Linked DNA regions of Homo sapiens: regions 2, 3 and 4 are each linked to region 1. The links are contacts of gene promoters, found by promoter capture Hi-C in blood cells and fetal thymus (Javierre and others, 2016). All regions are on one chromosome and are shown on one strand. Each heading gives the region's core, a stretch centred on a gene start or on the middle of the fragment in contact. The rest is flanking DNA. Distances are from core to core; before and after follow the strand shown. Region 1 holds the start of WDR43 (WD repeat domain 43). Region 2 overlaps PPP1CB-DT (PPP1CB divergent transcript). Region 3 holds the start of LOC124907747 (a long non-coding RNA gene). Region 4 overlaps PPP1CB (protein phosphatase 1 catalytic subunit beta).

Region 1 (6,247 bases), core at 1,926-4,425:
TGGCACGAATGCAAAGTATTGTAATCATTCTGTGACCAACAAGAGGTGACAATCTAATTTTTCTAAACACCTGTGAACCACAAACTTAACCCGTTACCCAAGAAACCCAGCACTAACTAATCTTTCTCCATTGATGAGTTATCATCACCACACTTTGTCCTTGCGTAGCAAACTGCCAATTACTAAACCAAACATAGAATACTTTTCTTACAAATTGATTTACCATATTAAATGCCAAATTAAATGGTAAAACGAGTCCAGATTCACTCAATAATAACATTTATTAAGCCACTTATTACATACTAGGCCATACTACACCAGTCACATACATTGCCTAATTTGATCCTGAGGATCCTAAAAGGTGGGTGATGATACCTCTATTTCAAATTTGAGAGTACTATATGTCATCATATAGCAGGACCTTAACAAAATGCTGGAAAGTGGGTTCAGAGCAACATCCTTTTCATGCCTCATACACTAAGCCTCAAAGATGTAAAATAAAAGGAAGGGTTTAATAAGATGAGAGCACCTTAACATGTGCCTTTTTTTTCTAAGATATCTTGTTACAGTACATATGACTTTTTAATTTTATACCATAATATATGTGCAAGTTTGTTTTAATACAAGAAAACTGTCTCTCCTTAGTTTATAAGTCAAACTGATGCTCCAAGAGGACACACCCTCAAAGTAGGGAATGTCTCTACATTCCTTCCAGCTCTCTCAGTTCTGTGACTCAAGATTGAGAGTAACAAAATCGGGGCACTTGACCAGGAGTTCGGGGCACCATGACTCTAGAGGCCACACTCCTTTATTGGTTATTAAGGCTTGAGTCAAGTCATTTACCTTTCTTAGCTCTGATTTTCAATCAGTTTTTTTAAAATGCAATTAATTTCAGGGGATTCCATAGTCATGTGGTTAAAAGGAGACAGTGCAGATAAAACGATGCTGAAACCTAGAAAAAAATTTTGTTTAATGTAGCTCAACTCTCGTTTGTCAATGAGGTCCTCAAAATTAAAACAACTTGCTCAATATGACAAAGTAAGTTTTGAGTCTGGGCTATGAAACCAAATCCAGTTATTTTTCTAGTTTACCATAGTGTTGCACATAATCCAAAACTATGACTTTTAATATGAGATTAGGAAATTTCTCTTGGGCATACAATGCAACTGAAACTCAACAGAAAAGCAAAGTGGGTGACATTTTTTCCAACCTAATATTAACTATCTGTTGCAGATAACCAAGAACCGAGCTCTTAAGGACCTGAGTTCTAATCCTGGTTCCATTTTTTACTTTATTCAAGTTGCTTAGTTTCCCAGAGTTTCTGTTTCTTTCCCCGAAACAAGGCAGAAAGTTCCTTATCAACACTTCAGGACTAACCACACAAATATCAGATATTAATAATACTTAACACTTAAAGCACTTACCTGTCAAGAACTATTCTAAGTGTTCTCTGCATTATTAAATATATTAACCTTCACAACCACTCTATGAAGAAGATATTATTATCCTCATTTCATAAATGAGGAACCAGAGGGGCAATTACCACTATGAAGCAGAGGCTAGAATCAAATATAGACAATATAGCCAGCTTGGGTCCACGCACCTACCTAACCACTGCTCCGTATTTCTCTCAGCATTAGTATTACTATCACTTTACAGGACTGTTAAAATACAACCACAGAAAACTTTGAAAATAAAAGATAAGCAGAGCGCTGTAATTTTAACAATAAAAACTGATTTTTTTTTTAGTTTTATGTTTGACTTATAAGCCCTGATAGGTTTATTTTATGAATCAACAGGATAAACTATGAAAATGTAGCTTAAAATTTGAAAAATATCTAAACATGCCCAAAGTATAGCAACTTATATGTATCCCTTTTCCCAACCCAAAAATTTAGCAGGCTTCCCAGGTCGTCAGAGAGAGTAAGATCCTAAATAGCTTTTACAGTTCTCCACATTGAAACAGCTCACATCACACACCTCAGGATACCTGATGTTTCCAAATCACTTTGCAGTGATTCGGTTTGGCTACTCTGTAAACGCAATAACCACGTGCATGCTGAGTTAGAGAGATGTAGCTGAGTGACTCAACAGTGAAAGGCATTTACCTGACACGGGTCCCTAACAATGAAAAGCTCTGCCTAACTCGGCAGTTTTCCATCTAAGGGTAATTTCATCTGCACTCATAAAACATTCACTAAATCAAGCTACTACTTCACTTAACCTCCACATCCTAATACAGACTTCAGATTGGGGTGGGTGGGGAGCAGTGTGATCGGCTTGAAAGCGGGGCGGGAGGGGCGAGCAGATGTTAAAATCAAAAAGCAGTGAGTTCAAAAAGCTGAGAATGTAGAGGTGCCTGGGAAAGGCAAAAGTTAAGAGTTGAGAGTCCCACAACCTGGACGGGGACGAGAACACGTGGTGAGCCGGCACCCAAAGGGGGGGCAGGAGGGGGAAGGTCCGGAAGCAAGTACAGACTAGTCCATACCAACTGCCCAGTGCAAAACTGATGAGCCGGATCACAGACAGAGGAAAGTTAGATAGTCCCAAGATGGGGCTCTGTCAAAAACCAGAACTCTGATGAGCCAAGGCCCGGCAGAAGGAAGCCGCCCCAGGGGGACCAGGGGACTTGGCGAACATGGCTGCCCGTCAACAGTGGGGCCCAGGCCTCATTGGGCCAGCCGGCAGGGCTCGGATACGAGGCCGGCCGGGTCGAGCTGCGCCCTCCCTCACTGCCCTCGCGGCAGGCCGCACGCGGGGCTGGCGGCTTGGGCCCTGAACGCGCCGACGCCGCCTCCAAGCCTTCTGGCCCGGGCCGCTGAGAGCCACGCGCGATGCCGGACCACGCGCCACCCGGCCCGGAGGCCCGAAGCCGAGCCCGGGAAGGCGCCCGCCCCGCGCAGTCCCGCTCGCTTTACCTTGGCCTGCAGCCGCGCTGGCGCCCAGGCCAGACAGGTGCAGGTACCACTGAGGTGCGCGGAAGGCACGTACTCCTGGTGCAGCCGGTTGTTGGCCGTCTCCCATACTCGTAAGTGACCGTCGGTAGAGGCCAAAGCGAAGTAGGCCTGGCTGTGCGGGGAGAAGGCGCAAGGGACCCCAGCAGGGGCCAGGGGGTCGCAGCTACCGCCGCCGCCCGCCGCCATTGCTGCTCTGGCCCCGCTGCAGCCACGTGTTCGTCCGTGCGCAGGCGCACCGGCGCGGGGCGGAGCCTGGAGGAGGAAGTGAGGCGGAGGGAGCGCCGGGGGCTCAGGGAGTGGATCTTCGCGTCGCAGGAGAGCTTCTGGCGGATCCGCCCTGTGGACGGTGGCCCGCTAGGGCCTGTCGCTATCTTGTTCTGGGCGGGAGTGGGAGTATGGGAGAAAGTAATTGTAGAATTAAGATCAAGTCCTGTTCCTTTAAAAAAAAAAAAAAAGGGGGGGGGCCGGGCGCGGTGGCTCACGCCTGTAATCACAGCACTTTGGGAGGCCGAAGTGGGCGGATCCCCTGAGGTCGGAGTTCGAGACCAGCCTGACCAACATGTAGAAACCCCCGTCTCTACTAAAAATAAAAAAATTAGCCGTGGGCTGGGCGCGGTGGCTCACGCCTGTAATCCTAGCACTTTGGGAGGCCGAGGCGGGTGGATCATAAGGTCAGGAGTTCAAGACCAGCCTGGCCAAGATGATGAAACCTCGTCTCTACTAAAAATACAAAAAAATTAGCCGGGCTTGGTGGTTGGCACCTGTATGTAATCCCAGCCACTCGGGAGGCTGAGGCAGAGAATTGGTTGAACCCGGGAGGCGGAGATTGCAGTGAGCCGAGATCGCGCCCCTGCACTCCAGCCTGGGCGACAGAGCGAGACTCGTCTCAAAAAAAAAAAAAAAAAAAAAAAAAAAAAAAAAATAGCCAGGCGTGTGGCGCACGCCTGTAATCCCAGCTACTCGAGAGGCTGAGGCAGGAGAATCGCTTGAACTCGGGAGATGGAGGTTGCTGTGAGCCGAGATCGCGCCATTATACTCCGGGCAACAAGAGTGAAACTCCGTCTTAAAAAAATAAATAATAAATAAATAACAATTTTTTAAAACTTTAAAGAAAATGATAAGGTAGAACGAAAGGTTTGAAGGAAATCTTCAGCCGAGCGCGGTGGCTTACACCTATAATCCCACTTTGGGAGGCCGAGGCGGGCAGATCGCCCGAGGTCAGAGTTCGAGACCAAGCTAGGCAAAATGGCGAAACCTTGTCTCTACTAAAAATACTAAAATTAGCCGGGTGTGGTGGTGTGTGCCTGTAGTCCCAGCTACTCGGGAGACTGAGGCAGGAGACTCCTTGAACCCGGGAGGTGGAGGTTGCAGTGAGCCGAAATCGCCACGCCACTGCACTCCAGTCTAGGTGACAGAGCGAGACTGTCTCAAAAAAAAAGAGAGAGAAAAGAAGTCTTCACTTTCAAATTGATAATGATTGTAACAACTGCTTCCGTTTCCCCCTATTCAATTCCAGGCTGTAATCATTTACAAAATAACAATGTATTCAGTTATAATAATGTAAAAGTAATGATCGGAACAACTATTCCCTCCTGTTTCTCCAGATTTATCTCATGTTGCTACATCAAATAGACATTTTTAGGCACACGCCCATAGTCTGGAGGCTGAGGGAGGAGGATGGCTTGAGCCCACGAGGTCGAGGCTACAGTGAGCTATGACTGCTCCACTGCACTCTACCCTGGGTGACATAGTGAGATCCTGTATCCAAAAAATAAAGGGTAGATTTTTATATTTCTCCTAAATATTCACCAAATCAATGCATTCTAATTCAAGGAATGCTAGGTACTGTTCAGCCCACACAGAGCCTATTGCCTGCCAGGAAAGATAAAAACCACTCTCATGGCCATGGGAAGGCTCAAGCTTTTACAGCTACGGAGCAGCATGGTAAGATTTGCATTTTATTGTTTTCTTGTTTGTTTTTGTGTTTTGAGACAGAGTCTCACTCTGCCCAGACTGGAGTGCAGTGGCACAATCTCAGCTCACTGCAACCTCCACCTTCCGGTTCAAGTGATTCTCCTGCCTCAGCCTCCCAAGTAGCTGGGATTACAGGCGTGTGCCACCACGCCTGGCTAGTTTTTGTATTTTTATTAGAGATGGGGTTTCACCATGTTGGCCAGGCTTGTCTGGAACTCCTGACCTTAAGTAATCTGCCCGCCTCAGCTTCCCAAAGTTCTGGGATTATAGGCGTGAACCACTGTGCCTGACCAATATTTGCATTTTAGAAAGATTACATGGAGACAGTGTAATGAATGTATTAGAAGGAAGCTAGGTTGGAGGCTCGAAACCCCAGGTGGAGATGATGGTGAGTGGCTTGGAGAAATAGCGATGCAAGGAAGTTTCAAGAGTGTTTATTATGTACAATGAGCCGGATTTCAAGTGGCCAAGGGAGAGATAGAGAAACGGCCAAGGATTACTCATTGAGCTTTTACAGGGAGAGACTGGTTGGTGACCCAATTCACTTAGGATAGTGAATCCTGGAAGATTTTTGTGCAAGAAGATGATAGTGTCTTTAGTCTGGGAATGCTAAATTTGAGACATCTAATTTGGCACTTGGATTCATTCAGTTACTCAAACAAACTGAATGCCTGCTATGTGCCAGGCACTGTTTTAGGGTACCAGGAATCTACCAGTGATCATGAGAGACAAGATTCCTGCTTTCATGAAGCTGACATTCTAATCAGGGAAGCACATAATAAACAAACAAAGAAAACTCTATTTCAGCTAGTGCAAGCTGCTATAAAGAGAAATAAAGCCGGAGGAGGGAAAAGAGTTTAAGTATTGAAAGGAATTAGGGACAGCCTCACTCAGACCATGCAATATCAGAAGGAAGAGCAGTCAACCTGGGGAGAATAGCAAGTGCAAAGACTGAGGCAACAAAGACCTTGACTAGTGGAAAGAAAAAGCTTTGGAGAAACTTAGGGTAGATAGTGACAACTAGAAAAATCAAAGGTAGCAGCTGAGTTCAGAGGGAGCCAGACTATTTAGTACCTTGTAAATCAGAGTGAAGTATTTGGATTTTATTATAAGTATGATAGAAATAAGCCACTGGAGAATTTTAATGTTTTTTTTTAAGAGGTGGGGTCTTTCTGTGTTGCCCAGGCTGATCTTGAACTCCTGCACTCAAGGAATCCTCCTGCCTTGGCCTCCCAAAGTGCTGGGATTACAGGTGTGAGCCACCACATCCGGCCCCCTGCAGTTTTGAGCAATGAAATAACATGATCTGATTTATA
Region 2 (6,452 bases), core at 60-2,559, 150 kb after region 1:
TGCTTCCCCCACTCACATATCACTAATAGTAGCTAACATTTGTTCAGATCCCTGTATGTACTCTGCCACTGTTTTAAATGTTACACCCGGGTTACCTCATTTAATCCTTACAACTGCCCTGTGAGGTAGGTACTATTATTATCTCTACTTTGTAGATGGGATTCACCGAGGCACAGACGGTTAAAAAACCTAGCCCAAATAACACAAATAAACAGCAGAGCATGCAGTGCTAGAGTCTGCATTCTTAACAATTGCTATATTCTCCCTCTCCGTGAATGTGGGCTGAGATGCTGAAACAGGCATGTGCTGTGGGGGAGAAAAAGCTTTGTCCAACCAAGTGCTTTCTAATGTCCAGATGACATAGAGCTAGGATTTCCTAATGTCTTTTTTCCCCTATTTTTCTCTCCATTTCAGGGTTGAGTTTGTGCATCGATTGTGAACACAACAGGCAGCAGGCTATAATGGTGGTCCTGGCTGGAGTAGTTTTCACAGACTTCAGTAATCTGTGGAGATGAACGGGCAGTTCTCTGTAGTTTTCACAGATCACTGCCAGTTCGTTTTGAGGCCTTCAGGAGTGAAGACCTGGCTCATCATCACTCTTTGTTGTTTTGTTAAATTTATTTACACCCTACTTTATTCCAGAGGAAAGGATTTAACGTAGTTTACATAAATGTGTACATCAGGGTAAATTAAAAATAAGTACAGAGAAAAATAGGACAAAAGAAAACCGTGAGTGTGAAAGATAAGATTAAGCCAGCAGTTTTGTATGCAAAATGCATGGTGTAAGGTCCTATTGGTTTGCTGGAGGTAGGCCACACATATGACTCTCAGTTTTCTAGCAACCAAGAAAAAGATCAGTTGCAATCGGAGTAGGTGTTTTGGCTAAGCTGGAACTAGGACTTGAATATAGCAGCTTGTAGAGTTATACCACTTGCCCAAATCTCTTCCATGAGCCTCTTTAAGTGTAACAGAATGCCTGGGAGCACGTAAATGCTCCTACTTAGATGCCTACTTAGCCTCTAATTTTCATGGGGCCCATGAATCCCATGAAAAAGAACTTTGAACCCTGTCCACAATTAGAGTTCAGGTATACGCAGACATGTTTAAAGACAAGGGACACCCAAAGGAAAGATTGCACAGAGAGAAAGTGAGCATCCGAGAGAAAATCACCACAAGTGAGGCAGAGGGAGGCCGGTCTCAGCAGAGTTTTGGAGGTCGTGAGAAGAAGAGGTAGGAGATAGGAGAGTGGTTCCGAGTACTTGCCTGCTGATGTTACCTTCTCCACCCCCACCAGGTTTTCCAGTGCCTGGAGTCTTGGGCAGGAATGGGCCACTGTAAGAAAGAGCTTTATCACTAGGGCCTCAGCCAACTTTTCTGTGGGATATCCCTCCAAAATAATTAAGAGTTCAGAATGCTTCAGATTTTGAAGTGAAACTGGTACATATATTAAGTGTTACTTAATAACCCGATAGTTTCTAGGGCAGCTCACCATAATCCCAAGTATTAGCCACCACCCTCACCCCCTTCAGAGTAAAATGTGTTTCCTGAAGGAAGTTGGGAAAATGAAGAAAAAAAATACAAAAATCACCTATAATCTTACCAGTCATAGATGGCAGTTTTCCTGTCTTATTTCTGAATAATGGTTGTTAAACATTTGCCAGCACACCATAAGGCTTAGGGAGGCATCTGGGTCATGCATGTTAATATCCTTGGGTAATTCCAGAAATCTCTATGAAGGGAAACTCCTGTTATTTATCTAGACTTCCTGATTGCAAGGGGTTTGGGCATCATGATTTAGGGGTCTTAATAAAATTATTATTTTATTTTTACTAATAGATAATGTCTGTGCCTATCAGATAAAGGCAAACCAGTGCTCAGAGGAACCCAACCATCTCTGAATTGAGACCAGAGAGCTGTCTCTATGGATAGTCCTTAGAGAAGGCATTTCGGAACACAGTAAACAGCAGCCTGGTGACTCCGGTTAGTAAACGCAGCAAAGACTTTCATAGGGATGTTTTTCTTATATGCCTGTCAGTATTAGCCAGTAGCCAATCTGGTGTGAAAGTGAGTAAGTTTAGGTAGCAAAATGTGGAGGGGGTGATATATAGTTTTTTGCTGCTCTGGCTTAATCCAAGATGACTTTTAAATGAATGAATCAACATTCATTGGGCTGTCCTTCCATAAATATGATTCTTCTCAATCAAGTGTTTAATAAGTCTTAAGTAGTGGTAAGTTGAAATTTTACTAGTTGTATCTGGAGGTCAGCCATTCTTTATATCGCATGCATTAAGCTTTTATAGTCAGCTCAATTCAAGAAAATTGGAAAACCAGACAAGGACATATATGCATCATTAGGAGGCCACCTCTCTCAATACAGAGCCAGGCCTAGGTGGTACAGCCAGGCAGGGCCAAGATTTGTTCTTAAGATTTAGTTTTGGTTTCATTTCATTATACATATGAGAATAGCCAAAATTATAGCTAAGCCATAAGGCATGTCCTCAGCCAGTTTAGTCCCCCAGAATTATAAGGCAAATATAAATAAATGCCTCCTTCCCTGCCCTTGGTCAGTAACCTCCCCGGTGGCCCCAACCAACTCTCTCTTCTCTCTCTCTCAGTTTGTCTTAAGCTAACTCCATAGTACATCCGTATCTTTCAAGATAAAGTGATTGAAAAATAAATGTCTAGTAATTGAAGGAGTTAACTGGCTATTTAGAACTGTTAACTATAAGGCAATTAAAGCTAGGTGAACAGCTACCACAAGTAATGACTATTTAATTGTTGAAGAGTTTATCTGTGGCCTTTTTTTCTTGTAATTAGATTACAGGGCCAGTTGCCTTTGTTACAATAAAAGCAAGTCATCTACACAGGTAAGAATGTTTCTCTTTTATTGCTCCCCCCTCCCCCCATCCTGCTCACTGAAATGGATACCAGGAAATAACTGTTTGATGAGGGAAAGTATACAATATGTGAATATTTGTTTCAAATGAAACAGTGTACTGTAAATGTTTTGTTTCTTGTTGCTCTGTTTCTCCTGTAGTATATCCAAATCACATATAATTCACCTTTTCAGTTGGAGGTTTACCGCTAAATGGCTTAATTTTTTTTCTTTTTTTGAGACAGAGCCTCACTCAGGCTGGAATACAGTGGCTCATTCACAGCTAACTGCAGCTTTGACATCTCAGGCTCAAGCAATCCTTCTGCCTCAGCCTCCGTAGTAGCTGAGACCATAGGCATGTGCCACCATGCCCGGCTATTTTTTTTTATTTTTAGTAGAGACAGGGTCTCGCTGTGTCAGGCTGGTCTCGAACTCCTGGGCTCAAGCAATCCTCCCACCTCGGCCTCCCAAAGTGCTGGGATTACAGGCATGAGCCACCGCACCTGGCCCTAACTGGTTTTTATGTCTCTGTTTCAATTGGGTTTTGGTAGATAAGACAAGGAAAGCATTACTTTTTTTATGTAGTTATAAAATGAGTAGCTTCTCATAATATATAAGACCACATTAAAATTAATAGCATATGTCTGTTAAAACTAAAGCCAAACTATTTGTGAGCTGTGAAATATATTCATCAGAGTTACATCCAACACCAATAGGTCTTTTATATAGGAAACACTGGTTAAATAGAATATTTATTAATTATTATTTAAATCTTGATTTAAACCAAATCCAGTCTATCATAATAAGTTCTTAATTGAAATGCTCTATGGTACTTGTTATTTAAGAAAACCTTACAGTGAATAGACCTCTGAAGCAAAAAGAATAATGAACCAATTAAGTATTTATGAAACACTTAGTGAGTTTGAGTCTGTGTTGAAGAAGGCATGACTTCCCAACTTTCAAGTTGTTTAATGACTATGTGGGAAAATGACCACAAAATGACTTGGATAGTGGGAAAAGCATTGGCTTGGAGGTGGGAGAACAAAGCAGCTGAATAACCTTAGACAATTCAATCTTTCTGAACCTTGGATTCATTACCTACAAAATGTGCCCATTAATAAATGATTTCCAAAGCTTCTTCTAGCTCAAACAAGTCTCTGATTCTAAGACATACAAATAAAACCCAAAATGTAACATAATATTGTACATGCCGTCCCCAGCTCAGGAACTGGACCAACTCCAAAGGGTCAATTGTTCGGAACATGGAATATATTTTCCCACAGAGACTGTGGTACAAATGGTGGTTAAACTCTCAGATCAGTCTGCAAAATCAATTTAGTCCTTAATGTAACTATAGAAGAGTGTCCATGGCAATATAGACTCTAGCCACCAATTATAACAGAGTTTATGGGGAATATTTATTGAGGATTCCTATTTGGCATGGCAGAAAACATCTCTCAGTGTTTTCTACTACCCTGAGCAATAGACGTGAAGACAAGTCTAGTTCCAATTTACAGACAGACCTGGACCCTATATGGGAGACAAAGGCTGGGCTGGCAGCATAGAGGGCAAGGGATGCTCTGATACCTTTGAATCCTTGGGGGGCGGGGGGGAGTGGGGGCAGGGCATGGTGGGCTGAGCACAGTTCATGACATCTTGGGGTTTGGTTGCCAGGAAGGAGCTGGCTCCCAAACCAAAGGATAGGGAATGTGAAGGCAGAAGGAAGAAAGGGAGTAAATATATTGTGCTGGGAACTTTTTTTAAAAAAGATACAATTACTTTTAATCTCACTTTGCGATTGAGGAAGTTGTGATCTAGAAAGGTTAAATTATGGCTGGGCTTGGTGACTCATGCGTGTAATCCCAGCACTTTGGGAAGCCGAGGCAGAAGGCTTGCGTGATCCCAGGAGTTCAAGACCAGTCTGGGCAACATAGCAAGGCTTCATCTCTACTAAAAAAATTCAAACTTGGCCAGTCCCTGTGGTATGCACCTGTAGTCCTAGCTACTCTGGAGACTGAGGCAGGAGGATCCCTTGAGCATAGGAGGTTGAGGATGTGTTGAGCTATGATCATGCCACTGTACTCCAGCCTGGGTGACAGAGCAATACCTGTCTCTAGAAAACAAAAACAAAGTTAAATTGCATTGATTTACTAGCAAAACGAGGACTTGAATCTCAATCTCTCCATCTCCTTCAGATTTTTACTCGAAAGCCTTCATACTGTGCAAGAGCCTACTCTTTTTGTCCCCTCTCCTTCCTGCACAAGAGCACCCTAGAACCCAGGGTCCCCATGCCCACCGTTATTCCTATTTTTCATTCTCTACTTTTCAGGGCAACCTGCTCAGCAATGAGCACAGCATTTTTCTGTTTTGCCCCTGTGTGTTTTAACGGTGCAGTCACCTCAAAGAATGACTTTATTGTTGCTAAAAAAAGGTTGCTCTCGCTCCTCATAGTCCAGTCCAGGTTTTAACAAACCACCCAGAGAATGTGATTGAGTGATCCCAAGCTCTAAGAACATTTAGGTACTTCTAGTAGTGACATTCCTATTAAGACAGAGCCCAGCTTGGCTGGGAGATCCAATGTCCCCATGCCCAGGTGACAGGCATTGCTCCTTTGTCAGAAAGGTTCCTGGCTGGAGGTTCATAAGTGTACCATGTGCTGGGAATTTTTACTGACATGATCACAATTAATCCCTCAGAAAATCCTGTGAAGTAAGTAGTTTCCCTTTTATAGATGTGGGAATGAATCAAGACTCAGAGGCTTTGACTTGTCTTTAGGCACCAGGTCAGTCCAATTCTAAAGCCCTGGCTGGAATACCCAGGCAGTGTGATTTAGAGATGCTGGGCTAGTTAGGTGGACTAGCTCTGGGACTCTGTTGTGAGAAAAAGTGAGTGGCGATGGGGTGGGGCAGCGGATGTAACTTGATGGCAAGGATTGTCAACTTACAGCAGGAAAATTTTGGGTGAGGAGGAGCAGAATATGGGTGGTTCTGGCAGCGAGACAGTCTTCAGGAATGAGAAGGAGAGGTCATCCCCAGCTACCTCCAGGAGAAAGGTAGGGAATGCCTTCCCTGCACATCTGAGGGGCTTCTTGGCCAGACAGACATTCACAATAAGCAACTCTCTTTTGTCCACATTCCTTTTTTAAAAATTTTTATTTTCGGTTTGGTGGTACATGTGAGGGTTTGTTACATAGATAAACACATGTCATCAGGGTTTGTTGTACATATATTACATCACCCAGGTATTAAGTTCAGTACCCACTAATTCTCTTTTCTGCTTCTCTCCCTCCTCCCACCCTCCCGCCTCAAGTAGACCTTAGTGCTTGTTTTCTTTTTTGTATTCGTAAGTTCTTATCATTTAGCTCCCACTTATAAGTAAGAACATGTGATATTTGGTTTTCTGTTTCTGAATTAGTTTGCTAAGGATGGTAGCCTCCAGCTCCATCCATGCATCCATGTTCCCTCAAAAGACATGATCTTGTTTTTTTTGTTGTAGTTGTTAGTTTGTTTTTGAGACAGAGTCTCCTTCTGTTGCTTAGGCTGGAGTGTAGTGCCATGATCTCGGCCCGCTGCGATCC
Region 3 (6,385 bases), core at 1,326-3,825, 230 kb before region 1:
TCTTCCTACAACACAGCAACATACTGGTCAAGGAACCCTCCCTCAAAAAATCTAATATTCTTAAAGACTACATTCAAGCCTATATATTTACCAAACCAACCAAAAGTGTAAATAGAACATGATGGTAATCAAATCCCTTTATGAAATGCATAAAAGTTTACAAAATTAATTTTACAAAGAAGGAAATATGAAAAATGCCCCTCCCTGCACCCGCCAGGAGTCTACAAATGTCAGAAGTACAGAGCATGAAGAAATAATCAGAAGAATATATAGTATTAACTCACTGCCCCATGAAAATCCTGGAAATACAAATAAATATCAGAACTTTTAAAGGGTTTCTCCTTTATTACCATCTTCCTTTCAGATGGGGAAAAAAATCTATACCATTAACAATCCTAACAATGCAAAACTTAAAATGTAAGAATTCCTTACCTCATTTCCAATAATGTCAATGTTTTGTTGGACCTGAGGAACCCACTGTCTCAAAATGGCAAATAATTCTGAAACTGAAGTTTTGGGATCAAAAAGAATTTCCTGGCATGATGCATCATTAGGATCAAAGAAAGAAAATTCTGAAATAAAAAAAGATGCAAATTAAATTTACTAAAAGTTTCAAATAAATATATTGAAAATAATAAACAATAAAACCAAGGTTCAAATGATACAAATATTTTAGATGCTAAAAAAAAATCAGAAGTATCTAAATAAGGAAAATATTATGAACATTTGCTGAGCACTTACTAAATACTTTAAAAATCCTCACCAACACCTTACCTGGCAGGTATTATTCTCATTTTGCACATGAGGAAAGCAAAGCTCAGACTAAATAATACCAGCTCAACATCGCACAGCTAGTAAGTGGCAAATCTGGGGTAGAAAACCAGGTCTGTCTCCAAAGTCTATCTTCTTTCCTCTATTATTCTACTTGCTGAGGTAACTCACCACTGAGCTCAGATTGTAACAGCATGCATAAGTAGTGGGACTCATTGAGGTTTTTTTGTTTTTGCTTTCTTCTTTGCATTTATATATTTTCCAAAATTATACTATGTACACATAGTTCTTACTTCTAGAGTCAGCATAACTAAAAGATGAGAGGCACCAAACTAAAGACACATATACAAGCAGAGCAGCAGTCCATCAGAAGAGAATCAGAAAGATTGAACTGAAATGTGATAACATTCGTAAGCTTAGACAACAAAATGGTCCTGTTAGGCAAAAATCAAAATAGAAGCCAAGACAAACCTTGGCCTCTGAGCCAAAGTCCCACCCCCAGCTCAGGAAAACCTGTAAGGACCTATTCTCCAAAACACCTACTTAAACTGCACATGAAGCTTGAACTTCATTTCTTGGTCAGCATGACTCAGCACATTGCAGCAAATCAGTAATGACTAAACTAACCCACTCATTCTAACCAGTGAGAATTAAGCTGTATGAATTTCCTTTTCTAGGCTTTATAAACCTTACTATAACCTTCGTGAGACAAGCTTCTTACCACTTTTGATTTGGAAGTCTCCCTATTTGCAGTTTTTTACTAACTTAATATTTATATTAAGAAAAGCACCCTGAATTTTCTTTTGACAGTTTTTGATGTCAGAAGCAGGATCAGAAGAAGACCCCTGTGAAGCCCCAAGGCCAGTAACTAGGTGCTGGTACCCAGGGCCGCAGCACTGGCTGCTCTCTCACCCAGCCATGGAGTTCTAGAGTAAGTCTCTTTTGAATCTGAGCTCTCCTCCTTCTGTGTAGAACTCTCCAATTATGCTGAACAACCTTTGCTGAAACTTCTCAGGAAGTCAACCTATTCTGTTCAAAAGGGGGAAGGGTGAAACACATGATTCCCTGTGTTCCAGAGCAGCTGCTGAAAAAAGAATCCTTAATAGTTAAGACCTTTCAGAGAATCTAATGCAAAGATGGGGTCCAAAAACACTGTGGATCAGAATCTTGTGAACTTTACAAAGTTCACAAGAAAAAATAGGTGAACTTTACAAAGAATAATTTGCAATTTCAGTGACCACTTCGGAGAACCTTTAATTTAGGTAAGATAGTCTGCCTTTGGGAGTGCCCTTGAAGGAGGAGTATCCTAAGCCTTTTGGAGACAATGGAATGCATTCTTTGATTTGTATGCAGAAGCTGCTGAACACAAAATGACTCAAAAATAGCTTCTCTAAAAGCATCCCTACAGCACTCAAATAAAAAAAAAATCTTCACTAAAAAGCTGTAGCCATCTGAGCAGGTAACCTTGACTTGTTCCATCTCTCACAGGTACAATTTGGATCCAGCTTCTTTTATAAACCAATAAGCTTTGTATTATTTTAATTGACACATGGCTAAAATTTGGAAATGAAAGCTATAAGATCTCTGTGTCTGTCTGTATACACAAACAGACACAGAGATCTTATAGCTATGTATGTTCAATAGACATAAGTAAAAACAAGTGCTTATATAAATTAAGTATTCCTGAAAACTCTCAGAAAAATAGGAACTAATCCAAATGCTTTTCAAGTTCATGTGACTTGGGTAATTTTCAATAAACAAAAACATTGTTGGTTTAGTTTAAAAAACCAATATGCCTTCAGAGTTGTCAGCATTAGACATAAGGCAGACGTACAACTTTGATTCTATGTAGGTCTACTAGTCAAATAAGCTCATGTTAGACAAGTGAATTACAAATAAGCCTCTGCTATCTCTAAGTTACAAAATTTCTCAGCAAGAAAAACAAGATGATGCTTAGCTATTTAATGTCTCATGAAATTTTCGTAAGTAATCCAAGCATAATTGTTCAAAACAAGTGAATTAAATCAATGTAAGTCCACATAAGATAAATACTGAAACATTAATTGCTGAACATAAGCTTATCTACTTTTGGACAGAGAAACTAAAGATACCTGGGTGTGTTAGTAAACATGTCCTGTGCTACACTGAAAAATTATAATATAAGGAAACGTGCTTCTAGAAATTATGGTGTATTTACATAGATTTCTCAATCTACAGAATGCTAGCGTGACAGTCAAGAAAAAATGTGAAGTAGGAAGATATGTTTTTTGCTGAAAAAGAAAATGAAGGAAAAAAACCAAAATGGCTATAGGAAGTTCAGAAGAGGGAGAGAGAATCTTGTGTGATTAAGCTGGCTAAAATTGAATGAATCTATTATCATTCATATCAAAATAATGCATAACTAGCATTTCAGCTCCTGTTAAAACGACTAAACTTTCTTGGAGTATGGGCCTGCTCTTGATGGGAGATTGTGAAAGGTTTTTCTTTAACTTTTGAATGGTCTGCCTAGAAAGCAAAGATTCTGTATTTTGTCAAGATAATTTCATGTGCTTCGTGCTGTCTTTGATTAAGTTTCTCTCTCAAAAAGTCAAGGGGTTTTGTTTTTTTTTGTTTTTGTTTTTTTTAACAACTACATGGCTTTCTCTGTATTTGCCTTTGAAATCTTTGTCACTTTGGTTAAATGGATAACTAAATACCTGTAATCCTATTTAATCAAGTGCTTTGAATCTTGAATCTTTTGGGTATTCTTTTTATAAACGTCTCAAAAATCAAATTCTGAATGAAGTCTTTTCTGACCTTAGACTAACTCTGGGATTTTTCAACGGCCCCTAGAAAATCTTGTTCTATTTCTTTAAAAAAAAAAAAAAAAAACACAGACATTAAACTAATTAAGCATCTTTGCATGGGAAGCATTGTCAAATAAATGTGAAACTAACTAGGCTTATTTGATATGTGAAACTAACTAGGCTTATTTGATCTATTACACTGCATGAGAAGCATTGTCAAAGGTGATGCTTAACCTTATGTTATTTTTGTATGACTATATTATTAATGTAAGTGTTTTAGAAATTGTATGAAATTCCTAGAAATTGGATATGTTCTGGTATAATTTTATCAGTCATAATTCCAGTTATTATCTTCAAATGTTATAAAATAAACAACCAAATTTCCTTGTCAATTGCATTAAAATGAACTGTCATCAAATCTGTAACTATGGACATTTTAAATCTTTTGCCATCTACAGACAGTGATTTTTTACTCTGATATTTTCCTGAAAGCTTTTGCAAGCATCTGTGATACAAAATTGCTGGAAGATTTACAGAAAAGACTCTGACAAGTGCAGGTTTCTGGTAACTTTAAGATCACAGCATTGGACTGGGTAAGAATTTCCAGCACTCTAATGGAAAACCAATGGATTCATGAGGCTGCTAACCCAAAATCAAGCAGAACAAGAATTACAGGGGACTGAATGAACTGATGAGGGTGATTATAATTTTTATGTCTTTGAAATATTGCGGGTTCTTTAATGTTTGTTTTCTAGAGTTAAAGAATGCCTTTTCTCTTTTCCCTTAAGACCTACAACTTACAGCAATTTGGTGAAGAATACTTTTGTAAACAAAAATGAAACACATTTTCTTTTCTCCCTACCCCAACCCCTCCAAAATTCAGAAACTTATTGAGTATTCTTTATTTTCATGGCAATATAAATATTTACATAAGTTCAATGAAAGTTTGTTTCCCCTGTAACAGGACACAATTGGGCAAGTCCTCTGCTTGGCTTCTTAGACTGAAAAGGCTTTTTAAAGTCTAATTTCAGATTCCTTATTACCAGACAGTTTTAAGGAATTCAGATTGACTTTACAAAACCAATAAAGCCCCTTAGATATTATCAAACCTCTGACTGGAATGGCATACTTGAGAATGTGTACATATTCACTATTCTTGCTGCACTTACATATATAATCAGGCCAGCTTAATGAGACAAAACTTATTTTGCGAACAAATTAGCCTGTGATTATCTTTGGTAGAAATGGGAACTGTAGAGAGAAAAATTGTGTTTCCATAGAAAACTCTAAGTACGCCCATTATCAGATTCTAGTCCTGTTTATTGTCTTTGAGGCACTGTCCACCTATAAACTGCACTGGATCCTGAATTCCTCTAGTTTCCTCCAATATCTGGTTACAACCCTCCAAACTATTATTTCCAAATTCTTAAAACTGTCCTTTTCCCCAACCCCTACTGGATGATTTGATGTAAACTTTAGACAAATCGCCATCATGGCTCATGTAAGGAACCTTTGTGCCTGTTTCTGTGGGGGCCACTTAGAGAATTCACCAAAACATCTGATGACATCAACCAAGACATTCAAACTGCAAACCAGGAAAGTCCATCGGTAGAAACTGCCATCCTCATTTCAGCATCTCAAGATGCTCCAAGAGCAAATCTGGAAATCTTCTTAATGCCCTGCCTTCCAGAGGGCTCATTTAAATAACAATAAGTTAGACTTATTAAGTGCCTTGTAGATGCCAGGGACTGTTCTATGAACTTTGTGTATATTAATTTATTTAATCCTCATAACTACCATATGAGGTAGGCACTATTGTTATTCTCATTTTATAGAAGAAGAAACAAAGGGATAGATAATATAAACAATTTGCCCAAAATCACACAACTGGAAAGTGATTGAGTCAGGATTAATGCCAGAATAACCCAGAATGAGAACATAACCTCTAAGCTACAATGCAATAATATATTAACATATCTAACTACATTTGAATTTTCAACTTCCATAAAGGAAAATAAAGTATTTTTTATGCTGTTGCAAGCTTTTGAGATTAAATGAAAAATAGTTTTTATTTTTTTATTTTTTGTAGGGACAGAGTCTCACTCTCTCGCCCAGGCTGGCGTGCAGTGGCCGATCTCAGTGATCTCAGCTCACTGCAACCTCTGCCTCCCTGGTTCAAGCAATTCTCCTCTGCCTCAGCCTCCCAAGTAGCTGGGACCACAGGCGCACGCCACCACACACGGCTAATTTTTGTATTTTTAGTAGAGACAGGGTTTCACCATGTTGGTCAGGCTGGTCTTGAACTCCTAACCTCAGGTGATCCACCTGCCTCAGCCTCCCAAAGTGCTGGGATTACAAGTGTGAGCTACCAAGCCCGGCCTAAAAAATAGCTTTTAATCAAAAGAAAGTGGGGTGAGGGGAGAAAATGGAGGTGATGTCTACTTTAAGTCAAGATGGAATAATGAGGGCCAAATTCGCCCTTCCATCTGAAACAACCACAACACCAGAGGGAAGAACAATGGTTTTCAAGACACGGGATGTTAGACAATGAAAGACAGTGATCTCTGAGGAATGGAATACAAATGAGAAAAGTCCTACACATGCCCCAGGTAACTGCCTTGAGGGAGTCTCCAGGAGCATAGTTCAGGGGTGGGGCAGGGGGAACCAAGAAAAAGCCCAGCAAACTCGCTGAGTTGAGGAGACAGAGCTAAGTAAGAGTCTGGACTCGCTGAGTTGAAGAGACAGAGCTAAGAGTCTGGACTCACTGAGTCGAGGAGACAGAGCTAAGAGTCTGGGGAACTTGAGGCGGCCAGAGGTCACAGGGCAGA
Region 4 (5,861 bases), core at 114-2,613, 130 kb after region 1:
CACGCGATTCTCCTGCCTCAGCCTCCCAAGTAGCTGGGACCACAGGTGCCCGCCACCACGCCCGGCTAATTTTTTGTATTTTTAGTAGAGACGGGGTTTCACCATGTTAGCCAGGATGATCTCAATCTCCTGACCTCGTGATCTGCCTGCCTTGGCCTCCCAAAGTGCTGGGATTACAGGCGTGAGCCACCACCCCAGCTGAGACAATAAACTTTTAAACGCCATTAGCCTTTCTGTAAAAACGGTGCTTGAAGAGTTGAGAACACTGGGAGCAAAATTAGTAAACAATTAAAAAACAAGCCAAATGGTTCTGAGTGGTGTTCCTTGGCTCTCGATGACAGGTATTACCAATACTTGTTATTTGGGGAGCCAATCCTCATTCGAAGTGACTGAAAAGTTACCCTCTATAAATAATCTATGTGGAACAACTAGAGGCAAGAATATTCTCAAAGCAGCTGAGAAAAACTATTTTAGTACAACCTGAAGTGTAATCTGCTAAGATATGTCACAACTGATGATGGTAAAGTAGAAAAATACTTAGTTGGACTATTTTACAAAGTCTGAGAAAATGTAGGATGTTTGAAGTCTGGTGCAGTTTTTTTGTGGAAAAATATCTTAATCAGGTATTACTGAACCACAGGCATCAATGGTCAACTTCATTTGCTCTAATGAACTTAACCACTGTCAGTTACATGACTATTTGTTAGTAATAAAAGCTGAATATCCTCATTTGGCCAACCACACAGGATTTTGATGGCTTAGCAGTGACAGCTTTATTGTAATTTATTTGCATTCAGGGCTGATACTGAATTTTTTCTAAACAAGAACCACCACCCTCAATCACTATTACCAAACACAGAAGAGTTTTAGAAATTAAATTTTGCGGCAGATCTAGTAATTTTTCCCCTTTTAATTCGAGGTAGCCTCTATTCTACAAAATAGAATGAAAGCTCCCCTAAATGTTTTCTAATAAATTCAGCCTAAAATTATAAGGCAAAAAAATATATGAGAAACTTCCATTGTGGTAAGTCATTCTGACAACTAATACTGTCTGAATTAAAGCAAGTTGCTTTATTTTTTAATTTTTTACTTTTTGAGATGTGGTCTTGCTTTATTGCCCAGGCCAGAGTGCAGTGGTGTAATGAGGCTCACTACAGCCTACTGGCTCAAGACATTCTCCTGCCTCAGCCTCCCAAGTAGCTGGGACTATAGGCACATGCCACCACACCTGGCTAATTTAATTTTCTATAAAGACAAGGTCTCACTATGTTGCCCAGGCAGGTCTCAAACTGCTGAACTCAAGTGATCCTCCTGCCTCCGCCTCCCAAAGTGCTGGGATTAAAGGCGCGAGCCACCATACCCAGTCAGCAAACTGCTTTATACATAACCCGTGCTGCCAAGTTAAGACAAGTGAGATCTTCATTCCCACACAATTTTGCAGCAGATACATTTTTTCAAACTCAAACTAGCATTCTTCAAACCTTGACTCAAGCGCAAAAAAAATTTCCATATATCAAAATCCATTTAACTGTGCAGCCGAGGAGCTTCCACCTAACCCTCTACTGGAAGTGATTAATCTGCAATGTAATGACATGCTGAAAGGCAAGTATCAGGAGAATTCTATAAATGCTTTCCAAGTGATGAATATGCAGTATGTCCCTGTGTAAAAAGACATCTTCTAAGATGAAATACATAGAATCTCACTACAGATCAGCATCAAGAGATGACCACTTGCAATCAGTTTTGATGACAGAGAACATTAACTTTGAATCTCAATTAAGCAAAATGTGTATCCTCTCCCAAAAGAATTCTGTCCTTTACTCAACCATTATATTTCACATTTTATATCAGTGTAAAAACTTTTCCATTGCAGGTTTGTCTTTCCAACGCACATATCCAAGGGTATGTGATATATATGTGTCTGTGTGTTGTGTGTATACTAAATTTTACTTTTCACTAACCTTATGCTACTTTCCCCAGCAAGTTCTTACTTATCATTACCTCTCTAAAACAGAAAAGATGGCAAGAAAAAAGCACTAATTCCAACACCTATGCACGGTGTCTCATAAATTTTTTTTTTTTGAGACAGGGTCTCTCTGTCACCCAGGCTGGAGTATAATGGCATGATCTTGGCTCACTGAAACCTCCACCTCCTGGCTTCAGGTGAATCTCCTACCTCAATCTACTGGGTAGGTGGGATTACAGGTGTGTGCCACCATGCCCAGCTAATTTTTTGTATTTTTAGTAGAGACGGGGTTTCGCCATGTGCCCAGGCTCGAACTCCTGACCTCAAGTGATCCACTCGCCTTGGCCTCATAAAATCTTAGTAATCTTCACTGACCACTGGTATTCTAACTCTTACTCAACCCCCACCCCCAAGATTACATACTAATTAATGGCAGTTAAATCTAGACATCCTAATTTTTTCCTAGCATTTTCTCCATATTTAGCACAAAAGCCTGCTTTTAAGCAACAAAAAGGCAGAAAAATAAAAATTCTACAATTGGCTAAAATGTGGAGTCTCTCTTTTTTTTTTTTTTTGAGATGGAGTCTCGCCCTGTTGCCTAGGCTCGAGTGCAGTGGCACAATCTCAGCTCACTGCAAGCTCTGCCTCCCGGGTTCACGCCATTCTCCTGCCTCAGCCTCCCGAGTAGCTGGGATTATAGGTGGGTGCTACTATGCCCAGCTAATTTTTTGTATTTTAAGTAGAGACGGGATTTCAGCATGTTAGCTAGGATGGTCTCGATCTCCTGACCTCGTGATCCGCCTGCCTCGGCCTCCCAAAGTGCTGGGATTACAGGCGTGAGCCACCACGTCCAGCCCCCTTTGCTTTTTCATTCTTTCTCTCTTGCTTTTCTTCTCCCTCTCCCACTCTGTCTTCCTTTCCTCCCCATCTTTCTCTATGCACACAACACACACACGGTTTTAAGTGAAAAAAAATTAGGCAGCTGCTGTACTTCCCTCTCATCTTAGGACTGCCTGTTAACAATAATTAATGTGGGCCGGGCATGGTGGCTCATGCCTGTAATCCCAGCATTCTGGGAGGCTAAGGTGGGCGGATCAGGAGGTCAGTTCAAGACCAGCCTGACCAACATGCTGAAACCCCGTCTCTACTAAAAATACGAAAATAAGCCAGGTGTGGTGGCGCGCACCTGTAATCCCAGATTACTCGGGAGGCTGAGGCAGGAGAATCGCTTCAACCCGGGAGGCAGAGGTTGCAGTGAGCTGAGATGGTGCCACTGCACTCCAGCCTGGGTGACAAAGTGAGACTCCGTCTCAAAACAAAAGAATAACTAACGTGGATTCAGAGACCAAAATGGCCTTTAGTGGCTCTGTATAGTACCACAAATTGTCTGTAATATTGTGTATATGTAAAAATATTTTTCTGAGAAGGCCCATGGCTTTCATGAATTCACAAAGCATAAGTAAAAAGTCATTTCAGGTACATTGGTAAACAAATAGCAAGTATAATGAGAAAAGAGTGAAGAAGAAAAGTGACAGATATAGGTGAGGGCTAGACATTTCAGGAATAAAGGACTTTTTTTTTTTCCACTGCACTGACATCTGCTTTGATAATACAAAAGCAAGGATGGGTAAAACTGTTAAGTGTCTCAGTACACACCAAGTCAGTGGCACCAAACCCCACTGGTAGTCAGTCACTGTGTTGTTCATTGCAACACACATGCAGTGAAACACAAAAAAGGCAGCTTCATGTATGCCCTTTGGTAAAGCAGTACAAATGATCAATTTTATTAAACTTCAATCTTTGAATACATCTCTTTAATAATCTACATGATAAAATGGAAATGCCCACAAAGCACTCCTGCTCCATCCCAAAGTACAATGGTTGTCGCAAAGGAAAGCACTCCTGTGACTGTTTTAGTTCCAAGCAGACCTAGACACTTTTTTTCACTAAACACTTTTACTGGAAAGTATTAACTGACAAACTATGGTTATTCAGACTTAGATATTCAACAGATACACGTGAACATGAACAAAGTGACCCTGTCATTTCAAGGAAAACAACTGACAGTACTTGTTGCCAATGATAAAATTCAAGCTTTCAAGTTACAAACTAAAATTCTAGAAACCTTGTAATCAGCACCATGAATCTGACAGCTTCTCCATAATTAAGGACTCTTCTGATGAGATCTTGTAACATTAACAAATGTCATTTCTGGATACTGTATTAGATAATAAGCTGTTTCAACATCTGGACATCTGCATAACTCAGCTGAATCAATATTATCCAAATGAACAACGCGTATTATAAAGTCATGTGTAAGATCCATTTAAAGTACAAGAAAGATCAATGGATTTTAATGTAAGAGAACATAAAAATTCATGGATATAATTTCAGATTCCACATCTCTTTTAAAATTCACCTTTAAAAAACCACCACTTGCTGATTTTTGGTATAAACATCAGAGAATACCCACAATTATCTAGAACAGCTATTAAACTACTCCTCCTTTTTCTAACTACGTATCTGTAGGACTACAGACTTTCTTCATATTCAACTAAAACAAGGTATCAAAAGACTGAAACAAAACAGAGATGTGAATTCAGCTGTCTTCTGTTAAAAAGACATTAGATTTGCATAAAATGATGGCACTTCTCACATTTTTGCTTTAGAAAAGTTATCTTCATAAAAAACATTTATGCTAAAATGTAATATGTTGCTACTTAAAGAACAGATATTTATTTATTTATTTAGAGACACAGTCTCACTCTGTCGCCCAGGCTGGAGTGCAGTGGCGCAATCTCAGCTCACTGCAACCTCTGCCTCCCAGATTCAAGCAATTCTTGTGCCTCAGCCTCCCAAGTAGCTGGGAATACAGGCATGTGACATCACGCCCAGCTAACTTTTTTATATTTTTAGGAGATGGGGTTTCACCATGTTGCCCAGGCTGGTCTTGAACTCCTGGCCTCAAGCAATTCCACCCGCCTCGGCCTCCCAAAGTGCTGAGATTACACGTGTGAGCTACCATGCCCGGCCGAGAACAGAAATTTTTAAATTCTCAGTTTTAACTTCTAATGCAATATTGTTAAATACCTCACATAAATAAAAGCTCGTTTTCAATTCTTTACATATATGGAGAATTTGAGTGTAAGAGGGTCTCAAGACTCAAAGTTTAAGATACACTGCCCTATAGTTCCTGGCCAAAAGCAAGCATACAACAGTGTTAAATCACTTTTCACCATTTTATCCTACCTAGAAATACCTTTCCCTCTCAGCACCAACACTGATATGTCAAACCAGATTATAAACGCTGAATAATGGGAATAGTAAAGAAACTGTTATACGTACTTACATACAAGAATAGTGGTTATATGCAATAAACAGAAAGTGGAGGAAACAGTATCTGTCACATACTTACAAGAAAGCCTTCTCAAAATTAGTATGGGGAAGTTCCAGGACTCAGTGGCACAAAGAGCTCTCTGTTAGTATTTCCTAGCTCAGGTTTGTACTAAGCAATAATGACGGCTAACATTTTCTGACCTTTAATGTGTCAAGAATTGTTTGAAGGCACTTACTATCATATATGCAGAAGAAACTGGGGCTGAAATACACCCAGAATCTGTGTCGTTAATCATTATATAAGATGGCATCCCAATGTATCAATACTTATTAATATTTGAGTAAACACTTAACTGAGTAAACATCTGATTATCATTCAGGATTCACATAATTCTAGTAGTTGGGAGTCCGAAATTCACAAAAGCTATTCCTTTCTGTCATCTAAAATCAGACCTCACTCTTTCTCACTGACAGGTTTGCAAGTTTCTCCCCCTCAGAAGTCTGGTCTCGGCCGGGCGCGGTGGCTCACCCCAGTAATCCCAGCAATTTGGGAGGCCAA

What was found. The method cuts DNA at HindIII sites, captures the fragments that hold promoters and counts their contacts. A CHiCAGO score of 5 or more calls a contact.
Region 2: a fragment that was not itself captured here is called in contact with the fragment with the promoter of WDR43 in region 1 in 2 of 17 cell types (naive B cells and total B cells); the score reaches 5.5 in naive B cells.
Region 3: a fragment that was not itself captured here is called in contact with the fragment with the promoter of WDR43 in region 1 in 1 of 17 cell types (total CD8 T cells); the score reaches 5.8 in total CD8 T cells.
Region 4: a contact is called between a fragment that was not itself captured here and the fragment with the promoter of WDR43 in region 1, in 1 of 17 cell types (total B cells). The highest score is 5.3, in total B cells.

Annotation. Positions count from the first base shown.
Region 1 is chr2:28,891,595-28,897,841 of GRCh38, reverse strand. It overlaps WDR43 (WD repeat domain 43), which reads right to left and starts at 3,175. Exons shown (of 18, transcript NM_015131.3): 1 at 2,919-3,175. The coding sequence starts at 3,143. RefSeq lists enhancers at 1,786-2,407, 2,482-2,581, 2,408-3,031 and silencers at 2,682-2,801, 2,822-2,871, 2,912-2,971, 3,112-3,191. The HindIII fragment of the contact is 5,798 bases long and covers 1-4,879 here.
Region 2 is chr2:28,744,348-28,750,799 of GRCh38, reverse strand. It overlaps PPP1CB-DT (PPP1CB divergent transcript), which reads left to right. Exons shown (of 5, transcript XR_007086259.1): 2 at 415-1,980; 3 at 2,818-2,867. Among named protein-coding and RNA genes, the nearest start is that of PPP1CB-DT, 4.2 kb to the left of the region's middle. RefSeq lists an enhancer at 2,469-2,548. The HindIII fragment of the contact is 1,968 bases long and covers 326-2,293 here.
Region 3 is chr2:29,125,445-29,131,829 of GRCh38, reverse strand. It overlaps CLIP4 (CAP-Gly domain containing linker protein family member 4), which reads right to left. Exons shown (of 16, transcript NM_024692.6): 3 at 433-572. It overlaps LOC124907747 (a long non-coding RNA gene), which reads left to right and starts at 1,482. Exons shown (of 2, transcript XR_007086264.1): 1 at 1,482-1,702; 2 at 4,016-4,665. The HindIII fragment of the contact is 551 bases long and covers 2,300-2,850 here.
Region 4 is chr2:28,761,140-28,767,000 of GRCh38, reverse strand. All of the region lies in intron 1 of PPP1CB (protein phosphatase 1 catalytic subunit beta), which reads right to left. Among named protein-coding and RNA genes, the nearest start is that of PPP1CB, 12 kb to the right of the region's middle. The HindIII fragment of the contact is 5,399 bases long and covers 1-4,062 here.